Regions from separate parts of the Homo sapiens genome. Here all the other regions are linked to region 3. The links are contacts of gene promoters, found by promoter capture Hi-C in blood cells and fetal thymus (Javierre and others, 2016). All regions are on one chromosome and are shown on one strand. The core of a region is centred on a gene start or on the middle of the fragment in contact, and the rest is flanking DNA. Distances in the headings are between cores, read along the strand shown. Region 1 holds the start of MED11 (mediator complex subunit 11). Region 2 overlaps DHX33 (DEAH-box helicase 33). Region 3 holds the start of USP6 (ubiquitin specific peptidase 6). Region 4 overlaps NUP88 (nucleoporin 88). Region 5 holds the start of PSMB6 (proteasome 20S subunit beta 6). Region 6 overlaps C1QBP (complement C1q binding protein).

Region 1 (3,857 bases), core at 1,358-3,857, 380 kb after region 3:
GGTTTCACCATGTTGACCAGGCTGGTCTCGAACTCCTGACCTGGTGATCTGCCCACCCAGGCCTCCCAAAGTGCTGGGATTAAAGGTGTGAGCCACCATGCCTGGCCCTATGTGTGTTTTTTAACTACTAAAAATTATTTTTGTAATGATTGAGTCTTCTTTATGGAAACAACTGGCCTCAGCCCTTGCGCCCTTACTGTGATTCCTGGCTTCATTTTTTGCTGATGGTTCCCCCTCGTCCCAAATCTCTCTCCCAGTACACCAGTTGTTCCTCCCCCACCTCAGCCCTCTCCTGCATCCTCCTGTACCCGCAGCGAAGGCCTGGGCTTTCCCACCCTCCCTCCTTAGCAGGTGCCGTGCTGGGACACCATACGGGTTGGTTTCACCTCCTCAGTCCCTTGCCTACCCCAGTGAGAGTCTGATCTTGTTTTTATTGTTATTGCTTTTATTATTATTGCTTTTATTATCATTAAAACTCTAGTTCTTGTTTTGTCTCTCCGAATGAAGAAGTATGTATTTTCATTAGGCCAAGTCTGCGGGAAGGCTGGGGCAGCAGCATGAAGTGTTTGAGGAAGTGGGTTGGGTATGTCAGTTTCCATCTCCTCTCTGAGCCTGTCAGGGTGTTTCTGGAGTGCAGAGCAGGAGCACCCTGCTGGAGAGGCCAAAGCATAGCTGTGGGCAGGCTCGGGCTTCAGTTTTTCCATGCCCACCATTTGCCCCTTTGTCCTAGGGTACTTTGACCAGCAGGGTATGTTGGTGCTCATACTCCCCACCCTACATGTTCCCAGGTTCTGTCCCATGGCACAGGTGATGGTCTCCCTCTCAGCTCTGGGTCCATCTCCCTGGCCTAGTTCTCCAGCATCTGCTCACAGGTTCGAGCCACATCACTGAGCTTGAGGCGGGCATAGTCCACTCGCTTCAGAGCCATCTGACAGTCCTTCCTCGAAGAGTAGCTGGAGCCCTCATGGGGCTGCCCTGTGGCCACCTACAAGACAGACTATCAATGGAGCACCATCTCCTTTACCCTAACTCCAACCAGGCATCAGGTCTCGTCTCATTTCTTCCCTGAGTTTGAATTTGTTAGGCCATCTGGTAGCTGGGTAAATAAATCATTTAACTTATGTTAATCTTGTCTGTAAAATGGGGGTGACAATAACTACTTCCTAGAGTTGTTGAGGATTAGATAAAGTAATGCAGAGTATCTGGCACACCGTAAAAATTAGTAATGGTAGTGGTCCCTGCGACGATTTCAGAACCTTCTCAATCCTGTCCCTCTTCTCAGGATATAAGGATTTGGGACCTCGTGGCCTGGAGGTCAGGCCAAGTTTCCAGTGACAAAGTTCTGTAGTTCTAGCATTATTTACACATCTTCTGCTAGGCACATGTGATGTTACCCAGTGAGGTATGCAGGGCCACCTTTAATTCTTTCATTTTATTATTTATTATTTTTTGAGACAGAGTTTTTGCTCTGTTACCCAGGCTGGAGTGCAATGGCATGATCTCGGCTAAGTACAACAACCTCCGCCTCCTGGGTTCAAGCGATTCTCCTGCCTCAGCCTTCCAAGTAGCTGGGGTTACCGGTACTCACCACCAAGCCCGGCTTTTTTTTTTTTTGAGACAGTCTTGCTTTGTCACCCAGGCTGGAGTGCAGTGCTGCAATCTTGGCTCACTGCAACCTCCACCTCCTGGGTTCAAGCGATTCTCCTGCCTCACCCTTCCAAGTAGCTGGGATTACAGGTGCCCGCTACCAGCCCAGCTAATTTTTGTATTTTTAGTAGAGACGGAGTTTCACCATGTTGGCCAGGCTGGTCTCGAACTCCTGACCTCAGATGATCCACCCGCCTCAGCCTCCCAAAGTGCTGGGATTACAGGAGTGAGCCACCGAGCCTGGCCTAATTTTTATATTTTTAGTAGAGACGAGGTTTCACCGTGTTGGCCAGGCTGGTCTCGAACTCTGTCAAGCCACTGCGCCCGGCCCATTCTTTCCTTTTAGAGGAAGAAACCCGCTCTGGATGGCCGGCTGGGGAGGTCTGGTCCTGCCCAGTTAATGCTCCACCCTGGATCACCCAAGCCTGAGGCTTTGACCCAGAGCTGGGGTTCGCTCGCAGAACCCCCCAGACACACCGACCTGGGTGAGGTAGCGGATCTGAGCTGACAGCTCCGCCTCCACGTGTTGCACTGAAGCGGTGAAGGCCGCCGCCTGCCGGTCTAGGAGCCGCTCGTTAGTTTTTTCCTTGGACAATTCTAGGATCACAGTACCTGCCAGGGCGGAGAGAGGGCGGGGACACACGGAGACTGCCAGTGTAGCCTCTCCCTAGGCCAGCCCCTCTCAGTCCCGCCCTTTCGCTGCGCACGCACGTAGGATTCCCTCCCCAACCCTGCTCCAAGTCCCAGGTCAGGCTGCCAGTGCAGCCCGGTCACGCTTTCGCTCCCCGCTGTCCAGGTTGTCGCATCCCGAACCTGCATTCTGAAGGATGGCGCCGATTTCCCGTTCAATGTCTTCCAGAGCGCGTAGTCTCTCGTTCGCCAGGCTGTAGGTAGCCATTATCACTCTGGGAATTCTCACCAAGAGTTTCTCCTCAGAAACGCGACGCTTGTTCCGGAAGTGGCTCTCGGTGTGCGCCTGCGCAGAGGGCACCGTGTAGCGAGCACTACGATTCCCAGGATGCTCAGCGCAGCCTCGCCTCCTCGGTCCGCTTGATGAACTACAACTCCCAGGGCCCGCTGCGCCTCAGCCACAGGACCACCCGTAGTCAGAGGCGACAGTGGAATATCCCCTAGCCCGAGGCCATTCAGACCTGTCCATCTTCTTGACACTGTCTGTGGCCTCTAGTTTATTCTACACAAGTTTATTTATTTATGAGACAGTCTTACTCTGTCGTCCAGGTTGGAGTGCAGTCGCAAGATCTCCCTCCCTGCAACCTCCACCTCCCAGGTTCAAGCGATTCTCCTGCTTCAGCTTCCCGGGTGCCTGGGATTATAGGCGCCCGCCACCACGCCCGGCTGATTTTTGTATTTTTAGTAGAGACGGGGTTTCACCATGTTGGCCAGGTTGGTCTCGAACTCGACCTCAAGCGATCCACCCTCTTCGGCCTCCCAAAGTGCTGGGATTACAGGCGTGAGCTGAATCTTAAAGGTGAACTACGTGGATGAAAGCTTGTAGTGGAAAAGGGAGACGGCATAGGCAACAGCATGGTGCTGTGACGGGAACAGCGCATGTGGAGTCCAGCAAGGGATTCTGCCTGCCTGGAGTGAACGGAGCGTGGTGGGGGTTAGGTATGACAATGGTGAGGCTGGAGAGAGGAGCGGAATCAGGAAAAGGCTTGCAAGCTATGTACTTTGGACTTGAGTCTGAAGACATTTGAGCCTTTAAAGGGTTTTTAAGAAGTGTGTTATGACCAGAATTACCTTTTTTGGAAAGATCGTTTGTAACAGTTTATAGTAGATTATCAAGAATGAAACTAGTTTGCCCAAGGTTAGCACATGAAGGTTAGACTCAGTTAAACTGAATGGTCTAGCCTGGGGAACATAGTGAGATACTGTCTTTATAAAAAAATTTGGGGGCTGGGCATGGTGGCTCACTCCTGTAATTTCAGCTCTTTGGGAGGCTGAGGTGGGAGGATCACTTGAACTAAGGACTTCGAGACCAGCCTGGGCAATATAGTGAGACCCCATCTCCTATATTTAAAAAATAAAGGCTGGGTTTGGTGGCTCACACCTGTAATCCCAGCACTTTGGGAGGCCGAGGCGGGTGGATCACCTGAGGTCAGGAGTTCGAGACCAGCCTGACCAACATGGAGAAACCCCGTCTCTACTAAAAATACAGAATTAGCTGGGCATGGTGGCGCATGCCTGTA
Region 2 (3,483 bases), core at 297-2,796, 340 kb before region 3:
GAGTAGCTGGAACTACAGGCACACACCAGTACACCTGGCTAATTTTTTTTTATGTTTTGTAGAGACAGGGTCTTGCTACGTTGCCCGGACTGGTCTCAAACTCCTGACCTCAAGTGATTTTCCCGACTCAGCCTCCCAAAGCACTGGGATTGCAGATGTGAGAAACCGTGCCCAGTCAATTTTTATTTTAAAATAAGTGATGCATATGGGATTTAAAGTTTTAAAAAGTCAAGTAGTTTATAGTAAAAGGTTTATAATAAAAGAATAGCAGTTGTTTTTACTTCAACATCCCAGATTTCTGCTGTTTAGGGCACCTACTTTCAATCTCTACATATTGCTTTCATGTTTCTAAACTACCTTGCTTTGACCACTATTTTTTGAGTTATGGGTATCAGGCATCATATGCTAATTTCTTACCATGGTGACAAAAGTTTAGAATGCCCCTCCCCAACCCCCTTTATCTCCAACCTCTTGACAGTTCTATCATGTTTTTGTTTAGGTTTTTGTTTTTGAGGCAGGATCTTGCTGTGTTGCCCAGGCTGGTCGTGAACTCCCGGGCTCAATCAGTCCTCCCACCTCAGCATTGGGAGTAGCTAGGACTACATGCTTGCACACCTGTGTCTGGCCTATTATGATGTTTTCTGAGTCCAGTATCAATACTAAGAATATTATGACCACACATTGCTAGTAGCACACCATCATCCCTGTACCTTGTTTCTTGAACAACACAGTTGTGCAAGCTTTCTGGGTAGCTCTGGCTCATTTTCTCCCAAATATTCCAACATCTCATATGCCAGTCGTGTATAGTTCTGTGTTCAAGCACAGTCTGTCTTTTCAGAGTCCTTTATGCTGCTGTTCCAGTTGGGGCAGGTGGCTCTCCTGGGCCTTTGTGCAGCTGTCATCTTGACTCTTCACTTTGTCACCATTTTCCCGTGGTGAGACCCATGGCTTCCCAGTCTCCTGGCCGTCCTGGGTAGGAGAGGGAACTGAAGGCTTTAACTACTCTATACTCAGACTTTGAACCAATCCCTGAGTTTTCACTCTCCCACAACATAATTTGTAGTTTCCTCCCTCTAGCCAAGTCATCCAGCCCCTTTCCCCTCTCTTCCAAAATGAGTTGAGACTCCTCATCTCTCATTGCCTTTTCTTTCTAAGACAGTGGCCTTTACTGTCGTTTTCATAGTGTTTGGGGAAGAAGTCTGCCTTGTTCAGCTGCAGAAAGCAAACGAGAATTTTTCATGAATGATGGCTGCTGGTGCATTAGGTTACCACTGGCTTTGATGAATTCTCCCACTCATGAGGTTTTGACTGTTTTAGATTTTATCCTGTCTGTGTATCCCTCTGCACATTTGTTCTGTTAATACTGGGCTGAAAAAAAATACATATTAAAAAATACGTATTTTTACATATATACATAAATATACATATAATTATTAAAATTTTTTTCTATTTATTTTGCCATTAGGCACTTTTTTTTTTTTTTTTTGAGATGGAGTCTCACTGTGTCGCCCAGGCTGGAGTGCAGTGACACGAGCTCGGCTCACTGCAACCTCTACCTCCCAGGTCCAAGTGATTCTTGTGCCTCAGCCTCCTGAGTATCTGGGATCACACCTAGCTAACTTTTGTATTTTTAATAGAGATGGGATTTCACTGTGTTGGACAGGCTGGTCTCAAACTGCTGACCTCAACCCATTTGCCTGCCTCAGCCTCCCAAAGTGCTGGGGTTACAGGCATGAGCCACTGCGCCCAGTCCATCAAGCACTTCATTTTATTTATTTATTTTTTGAGATGGAGTCTTGCTCTGTCGCCCAGGTTGGAGTGCAGTGATGCAATCTCGGCTCACTGCAACCTCCGCCTCCCATGTTCAAGTGATTCTCCTGCCTCAGCCTCCTGAGTAGCTGGGATTACAGGCGTGCGCCACCACGCCTGGCTAATTTTTTGTATTTTTAGTAGAGACAGGGTTTCACCATGTTGGTCAAGCTGGTCTCGAACTCCTGACCTCAGGTGATCTGGCCGCCTCGGCCTCCCAAAGTGTTAAGCACTTTACATCAAACAAATTAATGTATCTGATCAGAAATCAAAGAAAAATCAGGGCATTAGGTATGTCATTCACACTTGGGTGTTGTTCCATTTGAAAGTGAGGAACCCCATTAACCTCAGTATCTCAAGCAGTTGTCCGAGTATAGTGTGTGTTTTGGGGCGTGTGAAAGCGCTTTCGACGGCGTCATTCATTAAAGGCTCCTTCTCCAGCATGGCTGCGCCTGTTCATTTCCATAGATTAGGATTTCCCCAAGTTTCCTTCTGTTTTGTCAACTTCATTTTTCAAGATGCTTATAAAAGAAAGGAAGCTTCATGCAGATTTTATTTGCTTGCCTGATTATGCTTTTCATGGTATTGTTCTTGTTAGAAAAATCAATCTGATGATTTCCCTTCAAAATTTCATCACTTGGCCTATAAACATAGCTGGCTAACTCCTATATATTACAGTTTTGTTTTTTGTGTTTTTGAGTCAGGTTCTCGTTCTGTCGCCCAGGCTGGAGTGGAGTGGCAAGCAGCTGGAACTATAGGCATGTGTCACCACCCCTGACCAATTTAAAAAAAAGTGTTTTGTAGAGATGGGATCTTGCTGCGTTGCCCAGGCTGGTCACAAACTCCTGGCTGCAAACGATCCTCCCGCCTCAGCCTCCCAAAGTGCTGGGTTTACAGGCGTGAGCCATCACACCCAGCCTGTTACCATTTACACACTGCTGGTAAGGGTTCTCTCCAAGCTAGACATCAACTTTTAGGCTCATTTACATTTCTATAGTTAAGAGAAATAACTCTGGGAAACATCATCAATCACCATTGTCTTTTTCTGTGCAAGCTGCAATTCTATCAATGCCTAGTAAACCCACTCTACTTTTTTTACAGGAAGCCCCTTCTTCACAGGACATCCTGGTGTTCCTCACTGGGCAGGAGGAGATCGAAGCCATGAGCAAGACGTGCCGAGACATTGCAAAGCACCTCCCAGACGGCTGCCCTGCGATGCTGGTCCTTCCTCTGTACGCCTCCCTGCCCTATGCACAGCAGCTCCGAGTCTTCCAAGGGGCCCCAAAGGTGAGTGCACCACCTCTTCTGTCCAGCCCTATTCTGGGCACCCAGACGGATCCACCAGCGAGGTCTGTACCTGTTACCAGGCTCCAGATAAGGTGTATGGGATGGGATACCCAGGTGCCAGATCAGCGCACTGAGGAGGTGCAGGAATAAAATGCGCGGTGACACACGCAGCGCTCCTGTGACAGGAGCAGGGAGACAGTTGTTGGGATGAGGGAGAGTATAAACCAAAGCTGCAAGGTAAACGAGTGACTTCTAAGGACCAGCATAAATTGCATTTGTCCATAGTGCCATTTCTTGTGTGCCTTTGCCGTGCCAGGCACTGTGCTAGCATTTATATCCACTGTCTGTCATCCTCGTGGGAACCGGCAAGGCAGGTTATGATCCCAT
Region 3 (3,615 bases), core at 644-3,143:
AGTACACCCAGCTAACACCATGTTAGCCAGCCTGGTCTTAAACTCCTGGTGATCTGCCTGCCTTGGCCTCCCAAAGTCCTGGGATTACAGGTGTGAGCCACCCCACCCGGCCTCACTTGTCTTGATTTTTAATGCCCTTAGAGTGAGGCCACCATCATCTCTTGCTTGTACTATTATCGCAGCCTCCTAACATGCCTCCCTGATTCCAACGCTTCTCTACAGGGCAGCTGGAATGTTCTTCCTTCAGAACAAATCTGATAGTGCCATCCCCCTCTCTAAATTTCCACAGTGATTTCCCACTAACTTCAGCCTGAAGTCCAAAGTCCTTATTGTGACATATATATTCTGATGCGACCCCATTTATTCACTTGTGCTGTAAATATTTATTGAGCTTTTTTTTTTTTTTTTTGAGACGGAGTCTCGCTCTGTCGCCCAGGCTGGAGTGCAGTGGTGCAATCTCAGCTCACTGCAACCTTTGCCTCCCGGGTTCAAGTGATTCTCCTGCCTCAGCCTCCTGAGTAGCTGGGATTACAGGTGTGTGCCTCCACACCCGGCTAATTTTTGTATTTTTTGTAGAGAGGGGGTTTCACCATGTTGGTCAGGCTGGTCTCAAACTCCTGACCTCATGATCCACCCGCCTCGGCCTCCCAAAGTGCTGGGATTAGAGGCTTGAGCCCCCTCGCCCAGGCTTATCGAGCTTTTAATATGTGTTAAGCAGCGGGTGCTACAAAGCAGGGTGAGCATAAATGGACAAGTCTCTGGCCTGATGGAACTTATAATTGTAGAAGAGAAACTAATTAGAATCATTAATAAAGTTGCAACCATAAGTGCCAAAAAGGAGAGGCATATGATACTACAGTGGGGAGTCTCACCTAGCTGGGGAAGGCTTTCTGCAAAGTACTTACCTTTCCTTCCTATTATTTACCCATGAACTCTCTGCAGTTCCCCAAGAATGTAGGCACCGCCCTCTTGCCCTGTGGCCTTTCCACGAGCTGTTCCCTCTGTGAAGATTGCTCCCTCCGTACCTAGCTCCATCACTTTTCAGTACTTGCTATGTGTTGGGTACCGTGATAAGCACTTACCATCAATTTTCTCTTGTATTTACCTCAGTGAGTGCAACTGTTAACCCTGTTTTATACATAAGAAACTACGCTCTAGAAAGGCAAATTTGCCCAAAGACTCACAACTAGTAAGTGAAGAAACGAATTCAAATTCCGGTCGGCCCGACTCGAAAGCGGTCTTGGCGGTACAGTCTTGGGTCTCCCAGTTCCTTCCTGTTCAGGCCTCACGTATCTGCCCGCCTTTCCTGACAGACCCCTGGTGAGGGTCTAGTGCCTCCACGGGCCACGGCCATCGTAAGGCAGCAACTGTAACTTGTCGCCCGCCCCACTAGGCTGAGCTCTTCCCGGACAGGCACTGGCCTTTTCCCTTTCGTCGGCTCAGTGACTCCAGGTAGACGCCCCTCAGACACCACACGAGACGGCGGCTCACATGGGCCAGAAGTGTTTCCCCTCTCCCCCAGCGGCTTGTCTAGGAAAACATGAGGACTCGGTTCGACTCGATGGTGCGGGCCTAAGCCCCGGGAAGCCGGGAGTGGTGAGGCGGGCCGCCGGGAGCGGGGCCGGGAGTGGTGAGGGGGGCCGCCCGGAGCGGGGCCGGGAGTGGCGTCGAGCAGAGAGCCCGCAGGCGGGAAGTCCTCTCAATGAGCGTCTCGAGCGCTGCCCGCGGCCCCTCCTGACTGCTAGTTGGAGCGGGGACAGCATGGGCGCGGCCGCCAAGGTAGCGTCGAGTGAGGGGAAGACTGATGGGCGCCTGGAGACGAGCTCCCACAGCGGCCACGCATTTGGAGCTGGGCGTCGGGGCCCGCCCGTCCCGCCGCGCCGCTAGCTGTCCCCTCTGCCTGGCCTCCGTGCCTTGCGCCCCTTTGTGCCGTCCAGCCCTACAGCTTTGAGGCCCTTTCGGCGCACGCACCCCGCCCCGATCCCCCGGCGCTATCCCAGCCTTGACGGCCGGGGAGGCTTTCCCTAGCCCGGCGCCTCGAGGACCGCCTCAGTGGCCAAAGGCGGCGCGGGGTGCGCCCGGGCTGTGTCCCCGGGAGGCTGGACCGCCAGTCCGCGCATGAGGCCATCTGTGAGGCACGAGTGCAGGAGAGTGAAGGAGACCGGGGCGTGCTGAGTAGGGACCTCCCTCAGTGACTGGAAGGTTATTCATGGGGCCTTCTGACACTCTAAAAACGAAATTTCTCCGGGGTTTGATGAGTATCAGGGTGGTGGCTTCTTGAGTTTTGAGCAGGCATCACAAATCAATCCCTCTGGAATACAGAACTGCCTCTGTTCCGTTTTGGGTTTTGTGTGTGTGTGTGTGTGTGTTTTTGGAGACGGAGTCTTGCTCTGTTGCCCAAGCCGGAGTGCAGTGGCGCCATCTCGGCTCACTGTAACCTCCGCCTCCCGGGTTAAAGCTGTTGTCCCGCCTCAGCCTCCCGAGTAGCTGGGATTACAGGCGCCCCCCACCACGCCAGGCTAATTTTGTATTTTTAGTAGAGAGAGGGTTTCACCATGTTGGCCAGGCTGGTCTTGAACTCCTGACCTCAGGTGATCCACTGGCCTCGGCCTCGCAAAGTGCTGGAATTACAGGCACGACCCACCACATCCGGCCCTCTGTTCCTTGTTTCGAAATAACTCAATTAAAAGTCAGAGGCTCACTGGCCACATCTCCTTCCACCCACCCACCGCCCCACCCCCCAAAAGATGCCTCTAGCAAATAAAATGAGACGTCCTGATGCCTTCCTGGCTCGTTCCAGAATTTTTAGCTTTGACTTTTGACGTGGGGTCCTTCTACCTAAAGTCCCCGCCGTCACATCAGCCCCCAGTTTTCCTCTGTCTTAGCTCGGGCTGCCGTAACAAAATACCATAGACTGGATGCCAGACAACAGAAATTTATTTTCTCAGTTTTGGAGGCTGCAAGGCTGTGACCAGGGCCCAACATGGTCAGGTTCTGGTGAGAGCTCCCTGGCTGCCTTCTCACAGGGTCCTCACATGGCAGAGAGAGAGGGACCCAAAGCCCTCTGGTGTCTTTTTTGTTTGTTTGTTATTTTTTGGGACGGAGTCTCACACTGCTGCCAGGCTGGAGTGCAGTGGCCCGATCTCGGCTCACTGCAACCTCCACCTCCCAGGTTCAAGTAATTCTCCAGCCCCAGCCTCCCAATTAGCTGGGATTACAGGCACCCACCACCACACCCGGCTAATTTTTGTATTTTTAGTAGAGAGGGGCTTTCACCATGCTGGCCAGGCTGGTCTCGAACTCCTGAGCCCAGCTGATCCACCCGCCTCGGTTTCCCAAAGTGCTGGGATTACAGGCGTGAGCCACTGCGCCTGGCCAGAACTCAGTCCTTACAGAACATCAGAGAATCCATACAAGGTGAGAGAGAGGCCTTATAAATGCATTGGGTGTGGGAAAGATTTGAAGGGGAGCTCACAACTTATTCAGCATCAAAGAATTCACAGTGGAAAGAAACTTTGTGAATGCAATGAATGTTCAAAGACTTGTAATCAGAGCTCACACTTTATTCGACATCATAGAATTCATAGTGGAGAAAAGCCCTATGAATGTGACAAG
Region 4 (3,694 bases), core at 669-3,168, 290 kb before region 3:
AATTTTTGCTATTTGTATATCTGTGTATTTAAACTATTTAAGATGAGAGTAGAACCAAATAATTTTATGGCCAGCTTTTTTCACTTAATTTCATGAGAATTTTTTTTTTTTTTTTTTTTTTGAGACGGAGTTTCGCTCTTGTCGCCCAGGCTGGAGTGCAATGGCACAATCTCGGCTCACTGCAACCTCCGCCTCCCAGGTTCAAGCAATTCTCCTGCCTTAGCCTCCCAAGTAGCTGGGACTACAGGCACCTGCCACCACGCCCAACTAATTTTTGTATTTTTAGTAGAAACGGGGTTTCACCATGTTGGCCAGGCTGGTCTCGAACTCCTGACCTCAGGTGATCCACCCACCTCGGCCTCCCAAATTGCTGGGATTACAGGCATGAGCCACTGCACCCAGCTGAGAATTTTTAAATGTTAACATTCTTCATAATCATTTTTTGTCTTTTCAGTCCATTGCCTACAAATTCCATACATACCCACCTCCTGTTATTAGACATTTTGTGTTTTTGTTTTGTTTTGTTTTTCTTTTTACTTTTTGTTGTTTTTGTTTTTAACAAGTTGGTTTTTACATCTCTTTCCAGAAGGGCGTATACCGCATCTCTAGGAGAGACAGCAGTTGCATTTGACTTTGGGCCATTGGCAGCAGTCCCAAAGACTCTATTTGGACAAAACGGCAAAGATGAAGTAGTGGCATACCCACTGTACATCTTATATGAAAATGGAGAGACTTTCCTGACATACATCAGTCTGTTACACAGGTAAGTTGAGGTGGTCACCCACCTGAAATGAAAACTCAGTTTGGGCTCCAGTAGATATCATTGAGGCTGGACTTGGGAGCCATGTTTTTGAGTCTGTGGAAATGTTGCAGCCTTCACATGCTTGGCTTGCATATTTTTGAGAAAGAGTTAGTACAGGTCATTTGGCCTTTCATTTCTTCATATTATTTGGGTAAGTTCTATAGAATTCTTGGATAATCACTTATGATAGGCCTGGATTTGTGTTCACAAATTCTAGTTATCCGAACAAGTGCTTATTGTTTATCTTATATGAACAAGACACCACGTAGGCGTGGTAATCTGGTATCTTATGTCCCAGTTGTGGGGAGAAAGATACATACACATGAAAAAATACTATCCATACCACAGTATTGGTACACAGACAGTAAGAACCCCGAGGAAGGAGAGATCATTCTGACTGGGAGGTTAAGGAAATTTTCGTAGAGAAGGAGTGGTGTCATGTGTGACTTAAAGGTCTCATTCAGGATTAAATGAAGTATCAAGGAAGAGTGAGACCATTTCTGTCAAGGGCAGCATAAAGTAGCGTCTGAAAATAAGCAAGTGCAAGTGTCATTCAAGCTTAATTTATTAGACATTCTGGGCTAGAGCTGAGGATTCATGTAGGGAGCATTAAGTGATAAAGCTGGAGTATCTGTCCCGAGAAAATTTGCTGGAATTAAAAATACCTCGTTAAAAGAGTGAGTGTGGGTTTTTTTTCTGTAGGAATAGGGTAGTAGGAAGCCAGTGATGGTTTCTGAACAGAAGGACAAAACAATTGGTTAGGGAGGGGACTGGGACAGAGACTTTTAAAGAAGCTTTTGCAAAATTGAGCTTGTCATTTATGAGAGTTTGAACTTGGGTGGTAATAGAACAGAGGGAAAAATGAAACACAGTAGATAACAACAAAGGAAGGATAAATAAGACTTAGTTACTGTTTGGATAAGGGAGTATGCCATGAACAGAAACAGGTCAGTAAAGGCTGCTAATTGGGGGAGAAGATTTATTTCTAAGTAAATCAGTGTAAGATAGTATTGGACCAATAAAATGGAAATATTCCATGGACAGTTGGAAATACAGGATGATGACAGACAAGAAGAATTAAAATAGAGGTATGAGAATCATCTTTCATGGTGAGAGAGTCTATACAGGATAAGAATTTGAGGGAAAACTGCAGAGGCATAAGGCTAAGGGCTGAGCATTAGAGTTTATTCGCTTGTAAATCGACTTAACAGATACTTATTCAGGACCCACTCTGGCAGAAGATGGAAATACAAGATTGAAGGCAAGGTTCCTGCCATGTGGTTCCTTAACTACCAGAAGGGCATACAACTAAACCAGTAACTATAGTACAGTGTCATGTGCTCAGGGCATCACCGGGTTCTTCAGGAGTGTGATGGAGTAAATGAGTAGGCCTGCTCATCTTGGAAGACTTTAAGGAAATGCTATTACAAAAGCTTGAACTTGAAGGATTCACTAGACAGAATCAGAAGTGGGTACAGGAGAGAGAAGAGAGTACGCAAAACCATAAAGATTAGAAAGATGAAAGAGCTCGGTAGGTTACAGAATGGTGAGGATTCACTGTTGAGTGCATTCTCCTTGGCAGAAATGTTCTCTGCCTTTCACACATGATCTCAGGAGGATTTTGTGGTAACTTTAGTACCTTCCCTTACCCTTTCTCCTCTTGCTGCTGAGCCCTCATTTGTCCAAACCATGATCTGCCTAGTAACGTTAGCCCAAAACCCAAAAGTTTTCTTCATCCTTACATTTCATCAGTCCCAAATTTCTATTGATTTTGTGATTTAAATTTTTCGAAAGTATACACCAAGCTTGTCCAACCCACGGGCTGCGCGCAGCCCAGGACAGCCTTGAATGCAGCCCAACGCAAATTTGTAAACTTTCTTAGAACATTATGATATTTGTTTGCGATTTTCTTTTCTTTTCTTTTTTTTTTAAAGCTCATCACGTATTGTTAGTGTATTTTCTGTGTGGCCCAAAACAATTGTTCCAGTGTGGCCCAGGGAAGCCAAAAGATTGGACACCCCTGATTATACACCCTTCTCTGCATTCCTCTGTCCCTGCTTCAGAACTGCATCATCTGCCTACTTCACCATCTGCCTGGCTTATTTTCTTAAATAGTTTCCCCAAATCCCATTTTGGACCCTTCCATGTCTTCCTCCCTAATACCAGACTGATTTGTAAAGTGAGGCTCCATCGCTTGATTTAAACCTCTAGTGATATACTGTTACCCGGCAGATAGATTTCAAATAGTTTAACATAGCACACAAGACTGTGTACTTCATAAGCCAGTCCTGGATGTCTGTCTAGCTATTTTGCCGTTGCCTTCCACCTTGTACTTTGCCTCCCATCATACTAAATAAGTTTTCTTGTTCTTAGTTCTTTGTCTTTCATGTTTCCAGGACTTTGCATAAACTGATCTCTAGCTTGGAATGCTCAACAATCCCCTTCCCAGAAATCATTCTTTCTCATTTTTCTCATTTATTTTTTATAGCTTTCTTCATTATCTTTGTATCTTTTTGTCATTCCTTTGTACACCATAAATCCTTCTGTTGTTGCACTTATCACATGGTATAGTAATTCTGGTTAAATGTCTGCCTCATCAACTAAACCATCATTCACTGGGAGTATCATCTAGCACTCAATAATAAGTATTTGTCAAATCAAATTTAATATGGGGATCCAAAGCCTTGAAGAGAAGCTACATTTTAGAAGAAAGGATTTGGTAGTCTTTGAATATAGATGGTAGTTAAAACGAGGCATAGTTTAACAGGCTCTCATTTAAGTGTGTATTTTGAAAAAAGTCAAAGCATACAACAGAATCCTGGAGAACACCAATATTTAAGAGACAGAAATTAGAAAAGGACGTTAGAAAATTGTGTTTAAAGAGGTAGGAAG
Region 5 (3,629 bases), core at 72-2,571, 320 kb after region 3:
CGTGAATAGGTGTCAGCTTGTCAGTCACTCGATTGGCGATGTAGGACCTGCAGGATGGCAGAATAGTGAGGAAAGGAGCCCACCTGTCTTCCACCTCCATCCCATCACTACCCACTCTCTTAGGGCTCAGGGATAGGATGTCCAGTATTGCCTTTTTTTCCTTTTTCTTTGAGATGGAGTCTCGCTCTGTTGCCCAGGCTGGAGTACAGTGACGCGATCTCTGCTCACTGCAACATCCACCTCCTGGGTCCAAGCGATTCTCTAGCCCTAGCCTCCCAAGTAGCTGGGACTGCAGGCACGCACCGCCACGCACGGCTAATTTTTGTATTTTTTAGTAGAGACGGGGTTTCGCCATGTTGGCCAGGCTGGTCTCGAACTCCTGACCTCAGGTGATCCACCCGCCTCGGCCTCCCAAAGTACTGGGATTACAGGCGTGAGCCACCGTGCCTGGCCTCCAGTATTGCTTATTCTCATCCAAACTGAAGCGGGCTGGAGAACAGACTTTTGTAAGGATTCCACTAACGAGTGAGGGGAACTGAAAGTAACAAAAGTTGGGACAAATCTTTATCTCCAGAGAGAGAAGAAACCTCTCTTCCCACAGTGGTCTGTGGAGGCAGGCAGGGTGGGCTGGCAGGCAGGAAAGGAAAAGGAAGATGGGAAGACCTTTCACAAATCTGTCCTGAGCTCACCCAGTGGTTGTTCTGGAGTCCGCCCCCAGAACCACGCCCCCGTCAAACTGCACGGCCATGATAGTGGTCTGGGAAAAGGGAAAAAGGAGTAAGTCTACATTCTCCAGCAGACACAAACCTCAATGATCTCTCTACCTAGTTCCAAAAATACAAAATCTGTCCGTCGCTGAACCATTTTCAAATCTTATAGGGGCCTCAGCACCCCGCAGAATACCAGAATGCCAACCCTCAAATCTCAAAAGACTCATCCCGTACTTAAGCCCAAGATCCTCACTAGCCTCGCAGGATTTCAGAATTTCAAACTTCAGCCCACCCTCCACCTCCCACTACGAAGCTACCGCACCACTCCACCATCTTCGGGGTACCTCTCCCCATTCCTGGAGCACAACACATTCCACCTCCTCTCCACCCCTGCCAGATCTCTCAACCCCACTCAGGCTTTATCTTCCCATCGCGTCAGGCCTTGTGCACGTCCTATGAACCCCGATTCCTTCCTCACCCCAGTGGAAACTTCTCGGCTTTCCCAGTCTGGAGTGAACGCCTCCGGCCCCCAAGCCGGTGCTGGCCCGGCTCCCCGAGCAGCTAGTAAGGTAGCCGCCATCTTTCTCCTCCGGTACTGCCTCAAAGCAACTGTCGTAAAGCGCTCTGTCACGCTCTTTGGTCGCGCTTTGAGGCCTTCTGGGAGCGAAGCTACTCCGAGGTTGACGGCAGAAGGGAAAAGAAAAGTACAGTACTGCATGGGGACGGTTCTTTTGCGACAGTGAGCACTTGATGGCAGCGTGGCAAGCAACAAACAAAACAAGAAAGTCAGCAAAACCCCCCCCCCAAAAAACCAAAAAAAACCCAAAAACCGTTCGGCACTTTGGGAGGCTGAGGCGGGCGGATCATGAGGTTAGGAGTTCAAGACCAGCCTGGCCAACATGGTGAAACTCCTTCTCTACTAAAAAATACAAAAATTAGCCGGGCGTGGTGGGGCGCGCCTGTAATCCCGGCTACTGGGGAGGCTGAGGCAGGAGAATCGCTTGAGCCTGGGAGGCGGAGGTTACAGTGAGCCGAGATCACGCCACTGCACTCCAGCCTGAGCGACAGAGCAAGACTGTCTCAAAACAAAAGCAAAAACAAAACAAAACAAAAAACAGTCCTAGTGGCTTGCGCCGTACCGATCTTATGGAGTTACAGTCCAAAGGGCCCACAAAATAAACCTGAGAGTCTTTGGGCTAAAGTGACCACACCATGTTTTCATTTCTTTTAGTTATATACTTAGGAGTATATGCTGGCAGAGGAATTTATGGGTTCTATGATAACTGTATGTTTAACATTTTGAGCAACCGACAAACTGTTTTCCACAGAAACTGCACCATTTTACATCCCTACAAGCCATGTGTGAGGGTTCCAATTTCTCCACATCCTCACCAACACTTGTTATTGTGCATTTTTTTAGTTATAGCCATTCCAGTGGGTGTGAAGTGGTACCCTGTGGTTTTCATTGGTATTTTTCTAATGATTAGTGATGCTGAGCATATTTCCATGAGATAATTGGCCATTTGTATGTCTTTTTTGATGCAATGTTTTTTCAAGTTCTTTGCACATTCTAAAATTGGGATATGTCTTTTGTTTAATATATTTTTGGGGTTTAATTTTTTTTTTTTGAGACGAGGGTGGGGTGTGTGTGTGGGGTGGGTTTGTCTTGCGGTGTTTCCCAGGCTGGAGTGCAGATGGGATCATGGTGCACTATATCAGCCTCGAACTCCTGGGCTCCAGTGATCCTCCCGCCTCAGCTTCTCAAGTAGCTGGGACTACAGGTGTGTGCCACTGAACCCAGCTCTATTTGTCTTTTTTTTTTTTTTTTTTTTTTTTTGAGACGGAGTCTCGCTCTGTCGCCCAGGCGGGACTGCGGACTGCAGTGGCGCAATCTCGGCTCACTGCAAGCTCCGCTTCCCGGGTTCACGCCATTCTCCTGCCTCAGCCTCCCGAGTAGCTGGGACTACAGGCGCCCGCCACCGCGCCCGGCTAATTTTTTTTGTATTTTTAGTAGAGACGGGGTTTCACCTTGTTAGCCAGGATGGTCTCGATCTCCTGACCTCATGATCCACCCGCCTCGGCCTCCCAAAGTGCTGGGATTACAGGCGTGAGCCACCGCGCCCGGCCTCTATTTGTCTTTTTATACTGGTGTGATCTCGGCTCACTGCAGCTTCCGCCTCCCGGGTTCCAGCAATTCTCTTGCCCCAGCCTCCCAAGTAGCTGGGATTACAGGCATGCGCCACCATGCCCGGCTAATTTTTGTATTTTTATTAAAGAGATGGGGTTTCGCCATGTTGGCCAGGCCGGTCTCGAACTCCTAACCTCAGGTGATCCTCCCGCCTCGGCCTCCGAAAGTGCTAGGATTACAGGCATGAGCCACTGTGCCTGGCTCTATTTGTCTTTTTATTGTTGAGTTGTAAGGGTCCTTTTTAATATTCTAGGTACTAGAAACATCAGATACATGATTTGAAAATATTTTCTCCCATTGGATTGTCTTTTCATGTCCTTCATTGGTGTTCTTTGAAGCATGAAAGTTTATAGTGCCAGCTCTTACATTTTTAGGTCTGTGGTCCATTTTGAGTTAATTTTTGTATGTGATGTGAAGTAGAAGTCCAAATCCATGCTTTTGCATATGGATAGTCAGTTAGTTGTTCCAGCACCATTTGTTGAAAAGACCTGCCGGGTGCAGTGGCTCACGCCTGTAATCCCAGCACTTTGGGAGGCTGAGGCAGGCGGATCACGAGGTCAGGAGACTGAGACCATCCTGGCTAACACGGTGAAACCCCTCTACTAAAAATACAAAAAAAAAATTAGCCGGGTGTAGTGGTGGGCGCCTATAGTCCCAGCTACTCGGGAGGCTGAGGCAGGAGAATGGTCTGAGACCAGGAGGCGGAGCTTGCAGTGAGCCGAGATCGGGCC
Region 6 (3,320 bases), core at 193-2,692, 320 kb before region 3:
GCCTGGGCGCGGTGGCTCACACCCATAATCCCAGCACTTTGGGACGGGCAGATCATGAGGTCAGGAGAAAATCCTGGCTAACACTAAAACCCTGGCTCTAGTAAAAATTAACCGGGTATGGTGGCACGTGCCTGTAGTCCCAGCTACTCGGGAGGCTGAGGCAGGGGAATCGCTTGAACCTGGGAGGTGGAGGTTGCAGTGAGTCGAGATCGCGCCACCGCGCTCCAGCCTGGGCAACAGAGCAAGACGCCATCTCAATAATAAATAAATAAATTGAATTTCCTTCATAATTGACCTTATGATGTGTATGTAATTTTTTTAAATCACAGCTTTTATGAGATTTAATTGAGATGGCATACGATTTACCCATTTATTGAAGTTTATTAAATTAAGTGGTTCTTAGTCCTCGCAGAATTATGCATCAGTTATCACTACCTAATTCTAGAACACTGTTGTCATCCCCAAACAATACCTATTAGCAGTCACTCATTATTCCTCCCTGTAGCCACCCCAGGTAATCACTAAGCTACTTTCTCTATGGGATTGCCTCTTTTGGACATTTCATATAAATGGAGTCATACAATTTGTAGCTTCCCCCCCCAACCCCACGGAGTCTTGCTCTGTCACCCAGGATGGAGTGCAGTGGTGCGATCTTGGCTCACTGCAACCTCTGCCTCCCAGGTTCTGACAATTCTCCTGCCTCAGCCTCCTTAGCTGGGATTACAGGCGTGCGTCCGGTTAATTTTTGTATTTTTAGTAGAGACAGGGTTTCACCGTGTTGGCCAGGCTGGTCTCAAAGTCCTGACCTCGTGATCCGCCCGCCTTGGCCTCCCAAAGTGCTGGGATTTCAGGTGTGAGCCACCCTGCCCACCCTATTTACCTTTTTAATTGTTGGGTTGTAAAAGTTAAGTTTTTCTGGGTACAACTATCTTATCAAATTAATGATTTGTAAGTACTGTTTCCCATCTTGTGGGTTTCCTTTTCACTTTCTTGGTAATGTCCTCTGACACAAAAGTTTTTAATTTTGAGGAAGTTCAGTTTACCTATTTTTTTGGTCGCTTGTGCTTTTTTATTTATTTTTTACTTTGCTTCTAATTCACCAAGTGCAACTTGTGCTTTTTTAGTGTCACGTCTAAGAAACCACTGCCTAACCCAAGGTTGTGAAGATGTATGCCTTAATTTTTTCAAAGTTTTCTAGTTTTAGCTCTTAGTTTAGGTCTGTGATTCATTTTGAATATGGTGTGAAGTAGGGTCCTGATTCTCTTGCCTGTTGCATAGTGTGTTTTTGCCCTACACAGGTCAATTGTGTCTTCTGTAATCTCACCTAAACACCATTTGCGCAAGGTTTTCATAGCTATTTGGGGGCCATTAAAAATAATGCTCTGATGAACGTCATTCAATTTCTGTGCCCAGGAGCTCAGCTTAGTCAGCACAGTTGGAATTAGACAGATTTTGTCAACCTCAGACTGCCTCTGTTGCCATGGAAAGGTGGCTTCCTGGCAGAGCAGCTAGTTAGCACAAGTGGAGGGCGGCACTTCATGTACTCTTTTTTTTTTTTTTTTTTTTCTGACAGAGTCTTGCTGTGTCTCCAGGCTGGAGAGCAGTGGCGTGATCTCGGCTCACTGCAACCTCCACCTCCCAGGTTCAAGCAATTCTCCTGCCTCAGCCTCCTGAGTAGCTGGGATTACAGGCGCGTACCACCACGCCCAGCTAATTTTTTTTTTTTTTTTTTTTTTGTATTTTTTAGTAGAGATGGAGTTTCATCGTGTTGGCCAGGATGGTCTCGATCTCTTGACCTCGTGATCTGCCCACCTCGGCCTCCCAAAGTGCTGGGATTACAGGCGTGAGCCACTGCGCCCAGCCTTCATGTACTCTTGTGTGGAATGGTGCCTGCCAGAGTTGCATAGCCCAGCAGTTTTGGTTCTAAACCTTATGTCCCAAGAATTTTGACTCAAACTTTGGAACATGATTTGTCAGGTGTGGATTCTTGCACCTTAAAATTGTCACTAGTTGGTGTGTCTGGCCTGCTTTGTGATTATGAAACTTCCCACAAGTACTCTAAGGGATGAGTCTCTACTACAGCCCTTGTTCTTTGTGAGGCATTCCCTTCCCCGTTCCAGGGCTGCTCTCGGTGTTTAGCAGAGGCACCCTCCATCGCTTCTTCCTTTCCTTGCAGGGCAAATTTTCTGACGGGGAAAGTCTCTTAAAGGGGCTTCTGTTCCATCTCACCAGCCTCTCAGGTCCTTACTTTGACCAAGGGTTCCCTGGAAAGACCAGGGTGGGCAGTGTCAGCTGGCTGTGGCCATGAGATGCCCAGTCAGCACATGGCAGTGAGCCCTGGGGTACTGGCCCTGTTGGGAGTAACCCATGCATGACTTGTTTGGCTGAGATAAACTGAGGCCAGCTTTGGCTTCCAGCAGCTGGTACATGGTAGGCACACTTCAGACCTGCTGAGTCACTCAGGATTGGATGTAGGCACCCAGCCTAGTTTGAAGTTCTGCATATAATTCAGCCAGCTAGGACAGAGACATTGTTTCAATACGCCTTTTTAACTGTAGCAGATTTCCATGTTTATGTGTTAACCTGCTCGGTTAAAACCATGCCTTGTCTGTTTTGCCTTGTCTGTTTTCCCTTGCCGTTTTAGAATCACGGTCACTTTCAACATTAACAACAGCATCCCACCAACATTTGATGGTGAGGAGGAACCCTCGCAAGGGCAGAAGGTTGAAGAACAGGAGGTAAGCTAATACTATAATCAGCTTTTACCTCAGTTCTGACAGGCTGTGCCTGGGGCTTAGAGGAGGAGCGTTTTTCTTTGGTCTTTCAAAAAAAAAAAATTCCTCTAAGTCCAGTCGCATGGCTCACGCCTATAATCCCAGCACTTTGGGAGGCCGAGACGGGCAGATCACGAGGTCAAGAGATCGAGACCATCCTGGCCAACATGGTGAAACCCCGTCTCTACTAAAAATACAAAAATTAGCTGGGCATGGTGGCAGGTCCCTGTAATCCCAGCTACTCGGGAGGCTGAGGCAGGAGAATCGCTTGAACCCGGGAGGCAGAGGTTGCGGTGAGCCAAGATCACACCACTGCACTCCAGCCTGGCGACAGAGCAAGACTCTGTCTCAAAAAAAAAAAAAAAAAAAAAAGAGAGAGAGAATGGCAGGGGCATAAGAGACTTTAACTGGATCATGCCTACTCTTCAAACATTTCAGGAAGTGCTGTGCCCAGCCTAGTAACCAGCCAGTATGAGGGCCACAGAGTCCCTAGACATTCTGCCCAAGAGCCATCAGTACAGTGTTGGGTCATGACCTGGTGTGGAC

The links. The method cuts DNA at HindIII sites, captures the fragments that hold promoters and counts their contacts. A CHiCAGO score of 5 or more calls a contact.
Region 1: the fragment with the promoter of MED11 here is called in contact with the fragment with the promoter of USP6 in region 3 in 1 of 17 cell types (fetal thymus); the score reaches 5.5 in fetal thymus.
Region 2: a fragment that was not itself captured here is called in contact with the fragment with the promoter of USP6 in region 3 in 2 of 17 cell types (naive B cells and total B cells); the score reaches 6.4 in naive B cells.
Region 4: a contact is called between a fragment that was not itself captured here and the fragment with the promoter of USP6 in region 3, in 1 of 17 cell types (total B cells). The highest score is 5.2, in total B cells.
Region 5: the fragment with the promoter of PSMB6 here is called in contact with the fragment with the promoter of USP6 in region 3 in 3 of 17 cell types (fetal thymus, erythroblasts and naive B cells); the score reaches 8.4 in fetal thymus.
Region 6: a fragment that was not itself captured here is called in contact with the fragment with the promoter of USP6 in region 3 in 2 of 17 cell types (naive B cells and total B cells); the score reaches 7.3 in naive B cells.

What each region holds. Positions count from the first base shown.
Region 1 is chr17:4,730,178-4,734,034 of GRCh38, reverse strand. MED11 (mediator complex subunit 11) reads right to left here and starts at 2,607. Exons shown (of 3, transcript NM_001001683.4): 1 at 2,461-2,607; 2 at 2,129-2,259; 3 at 428-985. The coding sequence starts at 2,545. The coding sequence ends at 848. CXCL16 (C-X-C motif chemokine ligand 16) reads left to right here. Exons shown (of 6, transcript NM_001386809.1): 6 at 1-502. RefSeq lists enhancers at 2,611-2,660, 1,952-2,771, 2,671-2,810. The HindIII fragment of the contact is 3,713 bases long and covers 1-3,158 here.
Region 2 is chr17:5,455,610-5,459,092 of GRCh38, reverse strand. DHX33 (DEAH-box helicase 33) reads left to right here. Exons shown (of 12, transcript NM_020162.4): 5 at 2,911-3,096. Among named protein-coding and RNA genes, the nearest start is that of DHX33, 12 kb to the left of the region's middle. The HindIII fragment of the contact is 1,608 bases long and covers 743-2,350 here.
Region 3 is chr17:5,114,310-5,117,924 of GRCh38, reverse strand. It overlaps USP6 (ubiquitin specific peptidase 6), which reads right to left and starts at 1,893. Exons shown (of 38, transcript NM_001304284.2): 1 at 1,185-1,893. It overlaps ZNF232-AS1 (ZNF232 antisense RNA 1), which reads right to left. Exons shown (of 3, transcript NR_135658.1): 3 at 3,543-3,615. It also overlaps a transcript of ZNF232 not described here. The HindIII fragment of the contact is 5,308 bases long and covers 1-3,615 here.
Region 4 is chr17:5,405,802-5,409,495 of GRCh38, reverse strand. NUP88 (nucleoporin 88) reads left to right here. Exons shown (of 17, transcript NM_002532.6): 5 at 587-763. Among named protein-coding and RNA genes, the nearest start is that of NUP88, 12 kb to the left of the region's middle. The HindIII fragment of the contact is 639 bases long and covers 1,599-2,237 here.
Region 5 is chr17:4,793,856-4,797,484 of GRCh38, reverse strand. It overlaps PSMB6 (proteasome 20S subunit beta 6), which reads right to left and starts at 1,321. Exons shown (of 6, transcript NM_002798.3): 1 at 1,189-1,321; 2 at 690-757; 3 at 1-47. The coding sequence starts at 1,290. RefSeq lists enhancers at 1,008-1,537, 964-1,562. The HindIII fragment of the contact is 8,413 bases long and covers 1-3,629 here.
Region 6 is chr17:5,434,291-5,437,610 of GRCh38, reverse strand. It overlaps C1QBP (complement C1q binding protein), which reads left to right. Exons shown (of 6, transcript NM_001212.4): 3 at 2,645-2,738. Among named protein-coding and RNA genes, the nearest start is that of C1QBP, 3.2 kb to the left of the region's middle. The HindIII fragment of the contact is 4,188 bases long and covers 1-3,320 here.